Linked DNA regions of Homo sapiens: region 1 is linked to region 2. Evidence: promoter capture Hi-C in human tissues and cell types (Jung and others, 2019). All regions are on one chromosome and are shown on one strand. The core of a region is centred on a gene start or on the middle of the fragment in contact, and the rest is flanking DNA. Distances in the headings are between cores, read along the strand shown. Region 1 overlaps KCMF1 (potassium channel modulatory factor 1). Region 2 holds the start of GGCX (gamma-glutamyl carboxylase).

Region 1 (4,312 bases), core at 1,450-3,949, 500 kb before region 2:
AAAATCAAAATATACCACTGTTTATTTTGGCAGCACCTTCAAATTTCTAAGGACCAGATCCTGAATTTTGAGAATTTTTTGTTTCGTTGAGTTTTGAGTGTCTAGGATATAAGTTTATAAATGTTCTACAGTGCTTGTCTTTACTTCCTGTTTAGAAATCATTTAAATCTTTCCCCTCGAGGTGCTCTGGAAGAAGTTTAATTTCAGCTCTGAACAAGTAGAAATAACTGTGCTTCCTTGTATGGCTGCAATCATAAGACAGAATTTCTGTGGTTGGCTACCGTGAAATCTTTGTATTTATATTGCATTGTTTTGTTAAAAAAAAAAAAATCCACAGAAGTAGAACCTAGGTTTGCTACTAACAAAGTAGTGGATTCTTATAATTAGGCTCAGGTAAAGTAAGAGAAAACTTCTCTCCCTGTGGCCCCCAGAGAAATGAAGTAGGATAGCAGATTACACTATTAGAAATAATAGACGTAACAAAAAAAATCCAGCCCATTATCCCCACCCCCCATTTTCCCTCTCAATATTAGAAATTTCAATAATATGCTGACAGATTTTCAAAGGTCACCAAGGCTTTTGTGTTTTTTTCCGGTCTGTGGGCCACAGTTAAAAGAACGGGTAACAGGTTCAGAGTTCTCTTGATACGTCCAAGCCTTAGTTTCCAGGAAAAAAGCTAGGCTCCTCACTGCAAATATTAACGCTTTATATATTTACTCCATGGATGTTGGGGTAAGCACATATATCAATAGTTCATAGCTCTAGTTAAGGACAAAGTGGGTTGGGGGGTAGAAGGAGAATACTAGAGAGGTTACGGTAGCAGGTGGCTGCAGAAAAGAATCTTTTGAATGGGATTCCTGTAACAGTGTTCAGTACCAATATTAAGTCTACTGTAAGTGGGGTCTGATATGGCTTACTGATACAGGCATGTGTAAAAAACTAAGTGTGATGGAGGAATGGGTGCTAAAAGCTCTTAACAGTTTTGTAGAGAAGCCCTGCAGCCGTGTTTACTATATATGACATGCCTGTTTCTTAGTTTGCATGCACAGTTTAAGGGGCACATGCAATATTGGTTTCATGTGCAGTAAAAATTAAAACACGGCTGAGCGTGGTGGCTCACGCCTGTAATCCCAGCACTTTGCGAGGCCGAGGCGGGTGGATCACGAGGTCGAGTTTGAGACCATTTTGGCCAGCATAGTGAAACCCCATCTCTACTAAAAAATACAAAAAGTTAGCTGGGCATGGTGGCAGGCACCTGTAATCCCAGCTACTCGGGAGGCTGAGGCAGGAGAATCGCTTGAACCTGGGAGGCAGAGGTTGCAGTGAGCTGAGATCACGCCGCCATTGCACTCCAGCCCGGGCGACGGTGCAAGACTCTGTCTCAAAAAAAAAAAAAATTAAAACACTAGGTACGAAATTATCCCAGAATTATACGCGAAAGTTGGTGTTCATGCTGGAAAACAGTTACGGTTATCTGTGCTCTTTCTAAAGCTCAACTAGACACTAAAACAGTTCTCTCCTTGAGACCGGAAGTGGGATGGGGGTGGGCAGGTGGAAGGGAAGAGGCTGGGGAGGAGCCTCTCATCTCATCTCATTTCAGCCTCAACAGTAATTGAAACCCTATGCCTGGCCTGGAGTGGGTAGAGGTTAGGGTTAGAGTGCAGGATGGAGCAGCAGTCTGCAGACTTTCAGGTTGTGACGATGTCATGAAATTCTGTGCTATTAAACATGGCTATGTCTGAGTCAGTCATTACGGTATTCCAAAGCCAAATTCAAGTGACTGTTTTTCTGAATAGTATAAAAATCTAATTCCCTGTGCTTATCGGCTTCAACTGTGCTTACACAACGTTTGTTTCTAATTCGTACTCTTGCCTCTTGGTTTCTGTAGTTTTTCAACCCATTTCTGTCAGTGTTCTATAAATGCATACATTCGTTATTTAAGGAACCCTGCAGCAGACCTCGAATAAAATGTGACTTGATGTTTGTTGCCACTTCCTCAACTTGGTTAGCAAATTCAAGTTTTGAAAGACGATTCGTCTCAGAGAAGTTGATCCTGAACCTCCACGTCACATTTTAGTCGGTTGCTATTAGGTGGGTAATGCCTAATAACATGGGTTCCTCAAATCACAAAGGAGAATGCTCTCAAGTCCTCATGTTAACTTTAGTAAGTCAGTTAACTTTACAGCAACTAAAGAGATCAATTAAAAAGAACCCTTAAGTCTGACTGTCCCAGGTAACTTTACTTGCTGTACAGATAGTGCACAGATATGGATGAGGGCTGCACATGGCTGATTTGAAAACCCATGTGGGGCCGGGTGTGGTGGCTCACGCCTGTAATCCCAGCACTTTGGGAGGCCAAGGCGGGTGGATCACGAGGTTAGTTCAGGACCAGCCTGGCCAAGATGGTGAAACCCCATCTCTACTAAAAATACGAAAATTAGCTGGGCTTGGTGGCAGATGCCTGTAATTCCTGCTACTCGGGAGGCTGAGGCAGAGAATTGCTTGAACCCGGGAGGCGGAGGTTGCAGTGAGCCGAGATTGCGCCACTGCACTCCAGCCTGGGCGACACAGTGAGACTCTCCTCAAAACAAAAAAAAAAGAAAGAAAACCCATGTGGGCCGCATGTGCACAGCCTGGGGCTGCTTTCCACAGGCCTGGATAATGATGTTTCTCTTCAAGGAGGCCTTTACTAACCACAGGGAACCTAGCATCTGACTGTGTCCTTGGCAGACAGTGCATGTAGCCTGTAGAATGTTGGCTCCTCTGTCTATAGAAACCATCAGTTCGCTGCTCTCTCATTCATACATACTTTTTGAGTTCCCAGTAGGTACGAAGCTTTGTCTAAACATTATTTACCAACTGCGATTTTTACAGACTTCCCCTGTAAGAATTTTCTAAAAGAGCCTTTCTCCCTTACACAATTGAAACGTTTTCAAAGGTCATCAAGCCGGTTGCGTTTGGTCAGTCACGTGACCAATCAGAGCTGGTGAGTGAGCTGCTCCCTTAAATCTACCAAATTAGACTGACAGCATTTGGAATCTGCCTCACACATAAGAGATCCATATTCATTTAATAGTGAAGCCAGCCCAGAAGCATCCTCTTCTGTAAGCTGGATGGAGTCCCAGCTCTCTCTCCTTGTATATAAGGAGACCACACCCTGTATATAAGGTTTTCTTGAGGTAGATGCAGCAATATTCCTGGGGTAAGATTCTATAATACTCCTGTATTGGCAAGTGGACTGGACCAACAGACACAGGCCTCAGCCACTGTCGCTAGGGACTGAAGGAGAGTTCATGGATTCTTACCCCCTAGTCATGAAAGCTATTCTGGCCAGCCTTGAATCCATTTAATTTTGCCCACGAGAACCTTTCATGACAATTAACAAGACACTAGTTTCCCCATAAAAGTCCATTTTTAAATATATAGTATGCTAATTAGCAGTGTCTGTTGAATTGCCCTATCGGATAGCAGCCACCATGTGTGCTGACCACTCACGATTCAGACTTACCTTGGAAAATATCACACTGACGATACAGTACTTTAGAATAAATTGCATATTGTATCAGGCTCCGAGACTAATTTGTACTGAACCCTTGATATAGATTACCTTTTATAACATCACCACCTGTCATGAAGCTTATCTGTTTTCTGATTTGAATAAACTTTGTGTTGTGCACCTCAGTTTCCATTGCATTCACTGAGATAGCTGAGTGTGACTTCAGTGTTGTGTCATCTTAAGATGTCAGTAATGTTCAACACAGACTTGGTCATCTGTGGCACTGGTGTTTCGGCATTTCTATAGTTTTTGTTTTGTTTTGTTTTTTGAGATGGAGTTTTGCTCTTGTTGCCCAGGCTGGAGTGCAGTGGCACTATCTCGGCTCACTGCAATCTCCGCCTTCTGGGTTCAAATGATTCTCCTGCCTCAGCCTCCCAAGTAGCTGGGATTACAGATGTGTGCCACCACGCCCAGCTACTTTTTTGTATTTTTAGTATTTTGTATTTTGTATTTGTATTTTTAGTAGAGACGGGGTTTCACCATGTTGGTCAGGCTGGTCTCAAACTCCTAACCTCAGGTGATCCACCTGCCTCGGCCTCCCAAAATGCTGGGATTACAAGCGTGAGCCACCACACCTGGCCTCATTTCTATAGTTTTAAATCCCCTGTGAAATACCATTACTCCTATTGTCCCTGTCTGCGTCCTCTCCTGTTTCTGTGTGTGTGTGTGTGTGTGTGTGTGTGTGTGTGTGTGTGTGTGTTTTATTAATGCTTCCAGTGACATCTGCAGTTTCAGTTCCATTTGCCTACGGAATTT
Region 2 (4,649 bases), core at 800-3,299:
GGCTCACGCCTGTAATCCCAGCACTTTAGGAGGCTGAGGTGGGCAGATCACCTGAGGTTGGGAGTTCGAAACCAGCCTGACCAACATGGAAAAACCCCGTCTCTACTTAAAATACAAAAAAATTAGCCAGGTGTGGTGGCGCATGCCTGTAATCCCAGCTACTCGGGAAGCTGAAGCAGGAGAATCACTTGAACCTGGGAGGCGGAGGTTGCAGTGAGCCGAGATCACACCATTGCACTCCAGCCTGGGCAACAAGATCGAAACTCCGTCTCAAAAAAAGAAAGAAAGAAAGAAAGAAAGTGCTCTGGGAGTGCTTCTCAACCTTTTCTGCTTCCTGGCACACTCCAAAAACAGTTGCATTTCGTCAACACCCTGGGAATAAACAGAAGAGGCTACTCAGATCAGGAAGCCAGCTTGAGATAAAGCAGGGTTTCTCAACTTCAGGACTAGTCACATTTTGGGCTGGTTAATTATTTATTGAGGGGATTATCCAATGCACTACAGGACATTTAGGAGCACTCCCTGACCTCTATAGAGATGCCAGCAGCCACCTATTCTTCCTCCCCCAAGTTGTGACAACTAAAAATGTCTCTAAACATTGCCAAATGTCTCCCAGGGAGCAAAACTCCCTCCAGTTGAGAACTACTGGGCTAAGGGGACTAATATCTCTGCACATCTGTAAACCATTCCAAGCACACCATGCTGCGGCCTCAGTTAAGAAGCTCTTGATTAGGGAGTCACAGCCAAAAGGTATGGTCCCTGTGGCCCCCTGCTCTGTTTCTCTGAGTCTTCTGGGCAACTTCATGCCACAAGCAAAATGGGTCACTGCTGCCTCGCCTCTACATATCATATAGCATTTCTAGCTGGGTACGGTGGCTCACACCTGTAATCCCAGCACTTTGGGAGGCCGAGGCAGGCGGATCACCTGAGGTCAGGAGTTTGAGACCAGCCTGGCCAACATGGTGAAACCCCGTCTCTACTAAAAACACACATACAAAAAAAATAAAAAATTAGCCGGGTGTGGTGGTGGGCGCCTGTAATCCCAGCTACTCGGGAGACTGAGGGAGGAGAATCGCTTTAACCCGGGTGGCGGAGGTTACAGTGAGCCGAGATAGCGCCATTGCACTCCAGCTTGGGCAACAAGAGCGAAAGTCCGTCTAAGGAAAAAAAAAAAAGCATTTCTGGCCACCAAGTAAATCCTAACTGTAGGAGACAAAGCAGGTTTAATCCTAAACTTCGCAAAGACCTCTTCTTTTATACCAATGTCTTCAGCTCTGAGGAAAAGGGAGCTAAGTCTACTTGCAACCAAAAAATAGAGATTGTCATTCTCCACTCTCAACCAAATTGCTCCCACCCATAAACTGGACTCACCAAAAAGAAAACGAAAGACAGCTAAGCTTGCAGGGTCCGTTGGTCGATTCAGCAGGGTCACCAGCCTCCGCCAACTGGACAAATCTGTCCACTCAAAACCCAAGAGTTTCCCTATTCGGCTGTCCTGCCTGGGCCCTGAGATCAGTTCAGCCTTGTCTTTCTGTACTTTATCTGCAATCAATAAATGGAGAAAATATGTGTGCGGGGGTGGGCTCCACCTCAAATCAAAGAAATCACTGCACCAACAGCTCAGAGCTTCCGCCCACCCGGGTCGGCTCAATGAGGTTGCCTCAATGATCTGACTATAGGAAACATCCCTGCAGTGCAGCCCCCTCTCCACGATCCCCTAATGTCCCAGAACCCCTCAGACTACAGTCCCCTAACCGCAGTGTTCCCGAATGTCATCATCATTCAGAAGCCGCAGGCTGCAAATGTCTCACAGCACGCCCCCTTCCCCACAGAGGACCCCCCCCCCGCCTCACCGGGAGACACTGGGCGTCCTCCCGCCCCCGCCCCTCTGAGACCAGCGCTCCTAGGAACTCTCCGCCGGAGGGCGGGGTCCTAAGCCTACCTGAGCTGGGCGAGGTCCGCGCGGACCCGGCAGACACCGCCATTGCTCTGCGGAGGAGGCAGGTGGGTCACAGCTGCCGCGTCTGAACGGAGGCCGCCAGGAGAATTTGCTTCCCTAGGCTCCGCCTCCCGACGCGTCAGCGGCTGTGCGGCCGGCCGCAAAGCGCCAGCACTGTCGTAAATACTACCCACGACCGGCGGCGCCGGATTCCTTGCTTGGCGGCAGGGGGCGGAACAAGGAGCCTTGGAGCGGGGCAAAGGTACCCCTTAGTGCCGTTGATCTCCAGGGGCATTGTTAGACTCGCCTGTTATGCCTTCCGAGGGGGCCTCTGCTTTTTAAACACTGAAAAGAGTCTGAGTTCCCCAACTTCCTTGGGTCCTCCCCGACCCCATTAGTCCTCTCCGTCCCTGCGTCCCTGCGGTGCTCTCTGGTGTGAGGGATCGGGCGCAAAGGGCAAACTTTTTGTCAGAGTGACGCCGAGTTGAGGACGCGCCTGGAAATGTTGCCTGGGTTTTGAGCCATTGCACGACCCCTTCACTTTCTTTTCCAGGACCTGCAAAGAACCGAGGTTTCAAAGCAGTAGGGGCCGGGCACTGCTCTCGCTTGTAATCCCAACAGTTTGGAAGGCCAATGCGGGAGGATCGATAAAGAAAAAAAAAAAAGGCAACAACAAAAAAAGAAAAAACACTAAAAAAAAAGTTAGCTGTGTGTCGTGGCGCGCTCCTGTGGTTTCAGCTACTCGGGAGGCTGAGGTGGGAGGTTCGCTTGAGCCCAGTAGTTCGAGGCTGCAGGGAGCTGTGATCGCACCACTGCACTCCAGCCTGGGGGACACAGTGAGACCCCGTCTCAAAAAAAAAAAAAAAAAAAAACAAGCCGGGTGCGGCAGCAAGCCTGTAATCCCAGCACTTTGAGAGGCCAAGGCGGGCGGATCACTTGAAGTCAGGAGTTAAAGACCAGCCTGGCCAACATGGTGAAACCCCGTCTGTACTAAAAATACAAAAATAATCCGGGCATGGTGGCGTGCGCCTGTAATCCCAGCTACTCGGGAGGCTGAGGCAGGAGAATCGCTTGAACCTAGGAGGCGGAGGTTGCAGTGAGCCAAGATCGCGCTACTGCACTCCAGCCTGGGCGACAGAGTGAGACTCCGTCTCAAAAAACAAAAAACGAAAAAGAAAGAGAAAGAAAAGAAAAGGCGGGAAGAAAAGAAAGAAAGAAAATTAAAAGCAGCCAGGGAAACAGGAACAACATAACTGAAGAGGGGATACAGAGCAAGGGCAGTGAGTAGAGTGTGGCCCATCAGGGAAGGTTCTCAGAGGTGAGTCTGGAGCAGAATTAAATACCTAAATCTCTCCACTGGGATTAGCCAGCAGGAAAAGAAGAAGGCATCCCAGAGAAGCGGTTCTCAAACAGTTGGGTCTTGGGAACCATTTACAGTGTTAGAAATTATAGAAGACCCTAAAAGCTTTGTTTATGTGGATTATATCTTTCAATATTTGCCGTATTAGAAATTTTTTTGGCCGGGCGCGGTGGCTCACGCCTGTAATCCCAGCACTTTGGGAGGACGAGGCGAGTGGATCACGAGGTCAGGAGATCGAGACCATCCTGGCTAACACGGTGAAACCCCGTCTCTACTAAAAATACAAAAAATTATCCGGGCGTGGTGGCAGGCGCCTGCAGTCCCAGCTACTCGAGAGGCTGAGGCAGGAGAATGGCGTGAACCCAGGAGGTAGAGCTTGCAGTGAGCCGAGATCGCACCACTGCCCTCCAGCCTGGGCGACAGAGCAAGACGCCGTCCTGAAAAAAAAAATTTTTTTTTTTGAGGCCAGGCGCGGTGGCTCACGCCTGTAATTCCAGCACTTTGGGAGGCCGAGGCGGTTGGATCACTTAAGGTCAGCAATTTGAAATCAGCCTCGCCAACATGGTAAAACCCCGTCTCTACTAAAAATACAAAAAAAATGAGCCGGGTGTGGTGGCAGGCGTCTATAATCCCAGCTACTCAGAAGGCTGAGACAGGAGAATCACTTGTACCCGGGAGGTGGAGGTTGCAGTGATCCAAGATCGAACCACTGCACTCCAGCCTGGGTGACAGAGTAAGACTCTGTCTCAAAAAAAAAAAAAAAAAAAAAAGGCCGGGCACGGTGGCTCACACCTGTAATCCCAGCACTTTGGGAGGCTGAGGCAGGTGGATCACAAAGTCAGGAGTTCGAGACCAGCTTGACCAATACGGTGAAACCCCGTCTTTACTAAAAATACAAAAATTAGCCGGGTGTGGTGGCACGTGCCTGTAATCCCACCTACTGGGGAGGCTGAGGCAGGAGAATCGGTTGAACCCGGGAGGCAGAGGTTGCAGTGATCCCAGATTGCGCCACTGTACTCCAGCCAGGGTGAAAGAGCAAGACTCCATCTCAAAAAAAAAAAAAAGCTTTCTAACTTCTACTACAAAGGAAAAAAAATGGCATGTTTCTGTAGTCTCAGCTATTCCCAGCTTTTCTGGAGGCTGAAGCAAGACAATCACTTTAGTTCAGGAGTTTAAGACTAGCCGGGGCAACATAATGGGATCCATCTCAAGGAAAAAAAAAAAAAGCTATCAAGCCATTAGAAAACATGGAGGAACCTTAAATTCATATTGCTAAGCGAAAGAAATCAATGTGGAAAGACTACAAACTATGATTCCATCCATATGACATATATATATGTATTTTTTTGA

The links. Contacts are between HindIII fragments. The study calls those that stand out against the background at their distance.
Region 1: a fragment that was not itself captured here is called in contact with the fragment with the promoter of GGCX in region 2 in 1 of the 25 tissues and cell types used here (IMR-90 fibroblasts).

Annotation. Positions count from the first base shown.
Region 1 is chr2:85,055,797-85,060,108 of GRCh38, forward strand. KCMF1 (potassium channel modulatory factor 1) reads left to right here. Exons shown (of 7, transcript NM_020122.5): 7 at 1-3,676. Among named protein-coding and RNA genes, the nearest start is that of LINC01964, 9.4 kb to the right of the region's middle. The HindIII fragment of the contact is 4,482 bases long and covers 459-4,312 here.
Region 2 is chr2:85,559,444-85,564,092 of GRCh38, forward strand. GGCX (gamma-glutamyl carboxylase) reads right to left here and starts at 2,050. Exons shown (of 15, transcript NM_000821.7): 1 at 1,943-2,050; 2 at 1,372-1,542. The coding sequence starts at 1,985. RefSeq lists an enhancer at 2,024-2,253. The HindIII fragment of the contact is 7,250 bases long and covers 1-3,884 here.